Linked DNA regions of Homo sapiens: regions 1 and 2 are each linked to region 3. Evidence: promoter capture Hi-C in human tissues and cell types (Jung and others, 2019). All regions are on one chromosome and are shown on one strand. Each heading gives the region's core, a stretch centred on a gene start or on the middle of the fragment in contact. The rest is flanking DNA. Distances are from core to core; before and after follow the strand shown. Region 1 holds the start of OR1S2 (olfactory receptor family 1 subfamily S member 2). Region 2 has its middle 80 kb from the start of CTNND1. Region 3 holds the start of OR9Q1 (olfactory receptor family 9 subfamily Q member 1).

Region 1 (3,243 bases), core at 9-2,508, 180 kb before region 3:
CCTTGCTCTTTGGCCTCTCTTCCCGCAAAACCGTTGTTGTTACTATTGTTGTTGTTGTTTTAGTCATTTTGGTCTTTCCTTCTTTTTCAGTTTTATCAGGTCAGGGAGGAAGAATGGGGATGGGAAAAAAGGCAAAAGTGTTCATATCTGTTGCCATAGATACTAGCAGCTTGTGCCTTATATGTGGCAGGCATGGTGTCTCTTGAGATCATTTTGAGGATTGTCAGAGGCTCCCTTTTGGAGACTGCCCCATTATGCGGTTCCCTGACAAGGGCAATGAATTATGTCCCTGATCTCTTTAAGATCTCTCTTTCAAAAGAGACCCACCTCATGGTTTCTTATTGCTACAGCCTCCTCTGCCCCAATAGGCTGTCTCTGGATTGGAATCTCAACAAGGTGACTTGACTCCAATGACCTCCTATAGCATCACGTGTCCTATGGGAAATTCACATATTTATGCCATGTCATGGGTGAAAATGCAGATTGCCCTACTAACCACCATCTTTTCCCTCTACCCTGCCATCACGACCTGATCCAGTGAGCCCCTCACCTTTAGAAATGAGAGGCAAACAGAAGTCTTTAAGTGTATCTGTGCCCCCTAAATTTTCTTGAAGCTAATATCTAGCCACAGATGAAGTAAAACCCTGATTGCTCCTACTTGTACTTATTCTCCAAAAGCACTTGTTTTGGAGTTCTCCCCCGGCGTTAATGGGATGAAGCACCCACACAATGGTGTACACTCCCATAGCCATTCCTAACCCTTAGTTGTGTTTCCTTCTCCAGTCTCTTCACTTTTACGAGACTTGAAATTTCTCCTTTCTTAGATTTAAGGCATAAAGTTGAACAAGGGAGATGATTTGGGGACCAGTTTGGTAACTTTTAAGTAATTCCTGCACATGTACCTAACATCTCTAGAATATAGGGTATGCCTCACCTATGATCCTCAGTTTGGGGGATTTAACCTACATTTAGAACCAACTGGGAAAATCACATTCAGAATTCTGTTAGAGTTTAAAACATGTTCATTGAGAAGAATCTGCCATGTCCTGTCTTTTTCTGTGGCATTTTCCAAATCTCTGCACTGCTGAAATACTTCCTTATTAAGTAGCACTTCCACTTAATAAGCAGAAGAAGCTTTATTGCTCATCAGCTTAAAGGAAGTGCCTTACTGTAATGGCTGCAGCCAAATGACACCATGTTAAATTTTCTTGTAGGTGTATGAAGACTTTGTGTTCCTTTCTTCAGATCAGCAGAAATATGCATCAAGAAAACCAAACCACCATCACTGAATTCATTCTCCTGGGACTCTCCAACCAGGCTGAACATCAAAACCTCCTCTTTGTGCTTTTCCTGAGTATGTATGTGGTCACTGTGGTTGGGAACGGGCTCATCATTGTGGCTATCAGCTTGGATATATACCTTCACACCCCCATGTATCTCTTCCTTGCCTACCTATCCTTTGCTGATATTTCCTCCATTTCCAACTCAGTCCCCAAAATGCTGGTGAATATTCAAACCAACAGCCAATCCATCTCTTATGAGAGCTGCATCACACAGATGTACTTTTCTATTGTGTTTGTCGTCACTGACAATTTGCTTTTGGGGACCATGGCCTTCGACCACTTTGTGGCGATCTGCCACCCTCTGAACTATACAACTTTCATGCGGGCCAGGTTCGGCACTTTGCTCACAGTCATCTCGTGGTTCCTCAGTAATATTATTGCTCTTACACACACCCTTCTGCTCATTCAATTGCTCTTCTGTGACCACAACACTCTCCCACACTTCTTCTGTGACTTGGCCCCTCTGCTCAAACTGTCCTGTTCAGATACAATGATCAATGAGCTTGTGTTGTTTATTGTGGGTTTATCAGTTATCATCTTCCCCTTTGTACTCATCTTCTTCTCCTATGTCTGCATCATCAGAGCTGTCCTGGGAGTATCATCCACACAGGGAAAGTGGAAAGCCTTCTCCACTTGTGGCTCTCACCTGACAATTGCATTACTGTTCTACGGAACCACTGTAGGCGTGTACTTTTTCCCCTCCTCCACTCACCCTGAGGACACTGATAAGATTGGTGCTGTCCTATTCACTGTGGTGACACCCATGATGAACCCCTTCATCTACAGCTTGAGGAATAAGGATATGAAAGGTGCCCTGAGAAAGCTCATCAATAGAAAAATTTCTTCCCTTTGATGCCCTGGACATCTACATTCTTTTAGTCCACATAATCAGATAAATGATTCAGCCCAGAGTGTATGACACAGTTGTGACGGTTCAACTTTTGATGAACTTGCAGATGTCTGTCTCCTATTCCAACCTCTAAGGGGATTGGAGCTTTTCCACTTAGCTCTTGTCTTGGAAACAAAATCTGTAACTGCCATGGTAAGTCACAAGAATAACACGCATCCTTAGAGAGTAGATTGGTGGTTACCAGGGCCCAGTAGCAGAGAAGTGGAGTGGAGTTGAATAGAGGTTGATTAATGGGTACAACAATACAGTTAGATAGAAGAAATAAGACCTATTGTTTGATAAATCATTATGGGGCACTATGGTAAACAGTAATCTATTATATATTTCAAAATAGCTAAAAGAGAATAATTCCAATGTTCCCAGCATAAAGAAAAGATAAATGTTTAAGGTTATGGATATCCTAATCCCCTAATTTGATTATTACACATTATATGAATGTATCAAAATATAAGATGTTCCCCATAACTATGGAGGACAATTTATCAATAAAAATACATGTATTGATAAATTAAAAATTTATGCATAAATAAAAAATTAATTTAAAAACACATCTTAATTACAATCTATATTATTATAAACTTTGGTACAAATTATTCATAACCTAGACTATCACAGGTGCATAGAGTGCCTACAGTCTAGCCTTTGTAGCTTTGAAGACAGTTATTACTACTTCTTTCTTTAATCTACATTTCTTTAGGTCAGTTTTTCTCAAAGTTTGTTTTGTTAAGGTACTATTCAGTGAGATGTTTAGTGGTTATAACAATGAAGATTCCCATGGTCAAATAATTTTTGGCAACTCTGAGTTATATGAAGCACAATGTAATAACTGGACAACTTCCAAGAACCTTCATTGTCATGTAAATCTCCAAGAGGGTAAGATGGTACACAGCATTTCTCAAGACTAAACTTGAAATAATTGAAATTCAATTATTTCCATCATACAGAACCCAATTCATCACAGTTGTTCGCGGAACTAGCATTGCACAAATA
Region 2 (3,633 bases), core at 453-2,952, 180 kb after region 3:
TATAATTGTTATGTCTTCCTGATAGATTGGCCCCTTTATTATTATAAAATGTCCTTCTTTATCTCTATTAACATTTTTATTTTAAATTTTATTTTGTCTGACATTGTTATAGCTGCTTCAGATACCTCTGAGGTTCTGTTCATTTTTCTTCATTCTTCTGTCTTTGGATTTCATAATCTCTGCTGATCTATCTTCAAGTTCAATTCTCTCTTCTGCCAGTTCAAATCTACTGTTGAGCCTCTCTAGTGATTTTATTTCAGTTACTGAACTTTTTAACTTCACAAAGTCTACTTGATTCTTTTTTATAGTTTCTACCACTTTACTGATATTCTCTACATAATAAAATATTGTCATCCTATCTTCTTTTGCTTCCTTAAGCATGGTTTCCTTACTTTCATAATGGCTACTTTGAAGTCTTTGTTAAGTCTGACATCTGTCCCTCTCACAAGTAGTTTCTGTTGACTGATTTTTATCCTGTGTATAGGTCACACTTTCCTGTTTCCTTGACGTTAGCATAATTTCTGTTGAAAACAAATGCTTCAGATGATATATTGTAGAAGTTCTGGATATCACTCCCCTCCCTCTGATGCCAAGGCTTGTTATTGTTGTATGCCTGTTTGTATATTGTCTGGGTGGATTATTTTAGTGAAGTCTATTTCCTTCACACTGTAAAGCCTCTGATGTTGTTCCTCAGAAGGTGCAACATTGGGCATATGCACAGGCACCCTAGGATGTCAGTAATGTTATTTTAGCAGGGCTCTCTTCTACTGCCTCTTCCCTTGATCACTCCCAGCTCTTATGCTTCACTAATTGTCAGCTGATTGCTCTATTGTTTGTGACAATGTCCTGAGACATAAATTGCTCCACAGCTAATCCAATTAAATTAGGACTCCCTTGCAGGGTTCATTTTTGAGATGCATGTTTAAGGTTTGCTCTGTCCCCAGGAGGGCTCTTCTTAGCAATCCTTTTCCCTGATGCTCTCTGGTAAACTAGTTGGTAAGTGGGCTCGCTTGTATCTATCATAAAGCCACCAGCTGCCTCTTAATTGCTTTCTAATGAAACTGCCATTGTTTGAGAGAACCCTTAGACTTGAACTTCCCTACATCCTGTATCAAACTCCATTCCTTATGGGAAGACTTTAGATTTATTTGTTTAGAGTCCGCCTCTCCCCCTAGGAAAGATACCAGAGCCACAGTTCCAGAGCTGAGTAGTGGGGATAGAAATCACTGGTGTGCTTCTCTCTAGGTAACAGCTCTGCTTTAGGCAAACTAATTTTTCCATCCTCTGACCTCCCTCACTCTGCTCCTTGACTATAAGTCCCCATTTGTCCTTGTTGTATTCAGAATTGAGCTCAGTTCTACACTGAAGTCTCTTTCCCCTATTGCAGTAGTACTGAATACAATCTGTCCTTACCACCTCTAGTGTCCTGCTCCATTTAACACTCCTCACATTAATATTCCTCACACAGAAGTGAAACCCCACAAAACAATTTTTTGAACACTCTGTCATATATAGTTTCTAAGTTCATAAATCATGGAATTAAAAATTTAGAAATTGTCAAATGTGTTACTTATCACATTGTATTACCAGTATACTTCTAGGGCATTACATAATGTATTACATTCATTCCAAATCCTCATCCTAAGCCCATCTCTCACAAAAGCTTTTCCCTGCGAGTTTTGTTTTTGGGTTTTTTTGAGATGGAGTCTCACTCTGTTGCCCAGACTGGAGTGCAGTGGAATGATCTCAGCTCACTGCAACATCTGCCTCCCAGGTTCAAGCAATTCTCTTGCCTCAGACTCCCAAGTAGCTGGGAGCAATTTATGTCCCAGGACATTGTCACAATGCACCACCATGCCTGGCTAATTTTTTGTATTTTTTTTAGTAGAGACAGGGTTTCACCATGTTGGCCAGGGTAGTCTAGAACTCCTGACCTCAAGTGATCTGTCTGCCTTGGCCTCCCAAAGTGCTGAGATTAGAGGCATGAGCCACTGTGCCTGGCCGTGATTTTAAAGTCCCTAGAATTTTACATGTCTGCTATTATTATCTCTAAAACTTTTCTGTGGGTCTCTTACCTCTCTTCTCAGCACACTGTCAGCAATTAGAGGCATAGACATGTAGTTCAACTCATGTTAGTGGTTGGCTCAGCAGCACAACAGTGTCAAGTAAATGAAAACACAGCAAGTATCTCAGACTTACCAATGTGCATGGCATAATCCTGCTCAAAGACAACATTCTAGACCCCCTAACTGAGCTCTGCATTCTTCAATAAATGCTAATAATCCTAGGTAAGCACAGAGAATAAAAATGGAAGCATTACCCCATATAACTCATCACAACTAAAAAAAATGCTACTGTGCTTCTCCCACATATATGCAAAATATAGGCAAAATGATTTTCAATGAAACATTATTTGATGGAGCAGAAATCGGAAACAGCAAAAACATCCATCAATAGGGGAAAGATCAAATAAATTTAGTGTGGCCATATAATAGAGTGCTCTGCACAGGGACTGATATGGGCAGATGTTCAAATCATACTGTTGAGTTGCAGAACAATGCACACAGAATCATCATTCTTTATTTAAAGAAGGAAGGAAAGGAAGGAGGAAGGGATGGAGGCAGGGACGAAGGAAGAAAGGGAGGGAATGAGGAAAGAAAGAAGAGAGAAAGGGAAGAAGGGAACTGTGCATGTAAAAGTATCTTTTTATGCCTATAAATATATAGGAGGGGTTTTGAATAAAACTCTTAACAGCAAATATTTTTCTGTGAAAAATGAAAATGGAAGTGGAGATGCAGAGGGAAAGGGAAGGCTTTGATGCTTTATTTACTTCTACGTTGTTTGAATTTCCTATTCATTAAAAAAAAAAGACTAAATAGCAAAGAAAAGCACTGATATCAGGAAGAACTGTGTTGGAAATTCAGCTCTGCCACCATGTGTCCATTACTCTTACAAGTGCTTTACAGGCTTTCTCTCATTTAAACCAGACAATAACCTTATGAGATAGGCAGCATTATTATCCCTATATTATGGATAAAAATAGAGTCAGAATTTATAATCAAGTTTTCTTTTTTTTTTTTTTTTTTTTTTTCTGAGACAAGGTTTCACTCTGTCGCCCAGGCTGGAGTGCACTGGTGTGATCTTGGCTCACTGCAACCTCTGCCACCCGGGTTCAAGTGATTCTCATGCCTCAGCCTCCCCAGTAGCTGGGATTATAGGTATGTGCCACCATGCCCAGCTAATTTTTGTATTTTTAGTAGAGATGAGGTTTCACCATGTTGGCCAGGCTGGTTCAAACTCCTGACCTCAAGTGATCCGCCCTCCTTGACCTCCCAAAGTGTTGGGATTACAGGCGTAAGCCACTGTGCCTGGCCTATAATAAAGTTTTCATGACTCCAAACTTTGCATTCTTAACAACTATGCTTCATTCATTGACATTTTTAAAGACCTTGGCTGGGCACAGTGGTTCATGCCTGTGATCCCAGAACTTTGGGAGGCAGAGGTGGAAGGTTCACTTGAGCCGAGGAGTTCAAGACCAGCCTGGGCAACATAGTGAGACCTGTTTCTACAAAATATAAAAATTAAAAAAATTAGCTGGGCATGGTGGCTCCCACCTGTGGTCTCAGATACTCA
Region 3 (3,220 bases), core at 626-3,125:
ATGCCTTCAAATCTCAGCTCCACCACCTTCTAACTGAAATCAAATGAAAGCAACCTAGATGGGAGGCAATGCCTAACCCAACGGAATGAATATCTGATGGAATCATTGAAGTCATCAGAGACAAGTCTAATGAGAAACTCTTTCTGAGCGAGAGTTCCAGAGCATCCAAATTCTACTCCTCTTCCCCCCTGCCCCAACACGTCTTCGGGTCATGTGTTGGTAGGAAGATGAGCTTCTCTCCAAAAAGGGAGAAAGGAGGCCGGGCGCAGTGGCTCACGCCTGCAATCCCAACACCTTGGGAGGCTGAGCGGGCGGATCACAAGGTCAAGAAATCAAGACCATCCTGGCCAACACGGTGAAACCCCGTCTCTACCAAAAATACAAAAAGTAGCTGGTCATGGTGGCGTGCGCCTGTAGGACACACCCTATAGTAGCACGGCGGGCACCCCAGCTACTCAGGAGGCTGAGGCAGGAGAATCTCTTGAACCCGGGAGGCGGAGGTTGCAGTGAGCTGAGATCGCGCCACTGCACTCCAGCCTGGCGACAGGGCAAGACTCCGTCTCAAAAAGAAAGGGTCATTTACGGAGCCCCTCCCATGGGCTAGATTCTGATGGGCTGATACCATCTGGCTTAATCCCCACAATATTGTACTATGATCCTATGAACTATTCTTGATATAGAGGTGTTATTTGTCTTGGTTTTCACGCAATTGAAATCACTGAAGGCTCAGAGAGACAGTAAGTAAACTTGGGCAAGATCAAAGAACTACATGGCACAGAGAAGAGCCAAACCCCAGAGCTTCTGACAAAAAAAGCCTCCACACCGTGCCATTTTCCTCTGCCATCTCATTTCACCCAATGACAACGTGCCTGCAACCCTGGCTCCCTGCCCTGACTCTGAGGTTAATTTCCCTGCAGCTCGGAGCCCCGCCAAGGCTGGAGGAATATCCCACAGGCTCCAGTGAGCTGCAAAGCACAGTCACACTCCCAGGGCTATTAACAGCATCCGCTTCCTCTCCAAGGTTCAGGGAACTTTATCCACCAAGTGCCATGCAGGAAAAAAGAGGTCAGCCAGAGAGGAGAGGGTCACACGGGGCAATCACTAAATAAGGAGAAAGGCCGCACAGGAACTTGGCCCAATTTGGTGTCCTCAAAAGACGGTGCTCCCTGGCCAAGATTTTCCCTAACAAATATGGAAAAACAGTTTGAGGCCCATGCACGAAAATTGAAACTTGGTTCCTGTAGCTATTTGCTTGTGTAGCTACGTGACAAGCCTGGTGAGAAACGCTGGATTTCTCCCTCTTTCAGTTCTCTCCACCTGGCATCTGGGGGCCTAGTCCCAAAAAGTGAAAGGAACTGGAAAATAAACTTACTAAGATCCAGGAAATGATTTCAAAAAAAAACAGCCAACAAACCGAGGTGAGCAGGCGCAGTGGGTGGGTGTTATGAGACAGACAGCGGGGCTAGGAGATGCCCAGGATGAAGCCCGGAGACCTGCTCTCTGATTCCTCTTGGGTCTAGCTCATCACAGCCTGCTTCCCCACTCCCACTGCAACGTGACAGCAACAGCACATCTCACTTTCCAACATGCAGACAGCCCCCTGTGTTAACAGCACCGTCTCTGAAATCAGTGGAGCTGCATTTGACCCTACCTCCGTCAGGCCGTAGCTGTGAGTTTGGGAAAGGCGTTTGATCTTTCTGAGCCTCAGTGTCTTCATCTTCAAACGGGAAGGATAACATGTACATTGCTGGGCTGGACTAAAGATGGAAGGAGACATCATTAAGGGAAAGTTAGGGCCTTTGCTCCTTTCGCTCCCTCTACCATCTCTGTGTGGCATCCTCCTGCACTTCTTCAATTCCCTGCACAAGGGCCACCTTAACAGAGAGGCCCTTTCTGACCACCTATCTGAAAACGCAGTTCCTTTCACTCTCTGACCCTCTTCTCAGTTTGATTTTTTGGGTCACAGCTTCATTGCCATCTGGTAGATATTTATTTGTTTGTCTATAACATCACGCACACACACACACACACACACACAAAAGGAAGCTCCTTGAAGATAGTGCCTTTGTTTGTTTGTTCATTACTGTGTTGCTAATGCCAAAGTCACTGACATGTAGTCTACATGCAATAAATATATACTGATGTAATAAAAGGGTGGCTGCATGCTCCTGATTGTACGTTGGCAGCGTACTTAGTTTCCTTTCCATTTCTAGCTACCTGTTTTTAAGGAAATTTAAGGAAAAGGAAGTTCAACAATACTTACAGAAAAGTCAATCAATTTGGGTGTTGTCCATGCAATTACTGTCAACGGACTACAAGACTGACAATGCCTGCAGGAATGATGTCTTGTATATCTGGAGCAGCCTGCTCTCATGGCCTTGGGTGGGAGGCAAATTGAATTGATTTCTACATATAATTTCTTTTTCTTAGCTACAGAATTTAATTCTAAATTTCCCGGAAAGCTGTACTCTATCAGCTGTTTTCAAACTCTGTTCCACCAAGCCCTAGGTTTGCTTAGTTGCCAGGTAGCTGGGAAGAGGAAAGGACCTAGTATGTGGGGCTCTCAAAATCCCTGCTTCAACCAGCTAGTAAGTGACAGAGTCCAGATGAGAATCCAGCCCAGTCTGACTCCAGAGCCCACCATCTTTCCATCATACCACCTCCCCAGGGAGGGTGATATTCCTAAAATAAAATCTGATCAATTAACTGGGCGCTTCTCTCATTATTCCAGGACTTCAATACTGAGCAGATACAATCTGTTCCTCAAAGCTACTGACATATAGTCTGCCTATGATGGGAACAAATGGGAAACTGAGGTATAAGAAAATAAGTGGGAGGCTTCTCCAGCCATATATGTGACAGAGACCCCAGACCCAAACCAAGCCAGAGAGTCCACTATAGCAGACAGGAACCAAGGTGAGAATCAAGCTTTCTGAGCTTCTAGCTCTTAATCTCTAGGCAGCAATAATATCTATTCTTGTTGTCTCTCAGAACATTCTGTGAATTGATGAGATAGTGGATGTGCGGGTTCTTTGAAACTTTAAAGGTACACTCTGGTAAAACCTGCTTACTCTTTTGCTTCTATTGCTTATGGACTATGCGATGACCACAGAATTTCAATAAAGGGACAGCATGGGAATGGCCATCTGGTGGGACTCTGGGAATGGTCATGAAGCTGCCCTGGAATAACAAAAGCAAATTGATTTTGTTTAGATTGTAG

Evidence for each region. Contacts are between HindIII fragments. The study calls those that stand out against the background at their distance.
Region 1: the fragment with the promoter of OR1S2 here is called in contact with the fragment with the promoter of OR9Q1 in region 3 in 1 of the 25 tissues and cell types used here (mesenchymal stem cells).
Region 2: a contact is called between a fragment that was not itself captured here and the fragment with the promoter of OR9Q1 in region 3, in 2 of the 25 tissues and cell types used here (mesendoderm cells and ovary).

What each region holds. Positions count from the first base shown.
Region 1 is chr11:58,202,157-58,205,399 of GRCh38, reverse strand. OR1S2 (olfactory receptor family 1 subfamily S member 2) reads left to right here and starts at 1,258. Exons shown (of 1, transcript NM_001004459.2): 1 at 1,258-2,196. The coding sequence starts at 1,258. The coding sequence ends at 2,196. The HindIII fragment of the contact is 9,459 bases long and covers 315-3,243 here.
Region 2 is chr11:57,840,004-57,843,636 of GRCh38, reverse strand. No RefSeq gene overlaps it. Among named protein-coding and RNA genes, the nearest start is that of CTNND1, 80 kb to the right of the region's middle. The HindIII fragment of the contact is 6,432 bases long and covers 1-3,633 here.
Region 3 is chr11:58,022,536-58,025,755 of GRCh38, reverse strand. It overlaps OR9Q1 (olfactory receptor family 9 subfamily Q member 1), which reads right to left and starts at 1,875. Exons shown (of 3, transcript NM_001005212.4): 1 at 1,652-1,875. It overlaps LOC107984331 (a long non-coding RNA gene), which reads left to right and starts at 1,337. Exons shown (of 3, transcript XR_001748218.1): 1 at 1,337-1,669; 2 at 2,732-2,916. The HindIII fragment of the contact is 7,062 bases long and covers 1-3,220 here.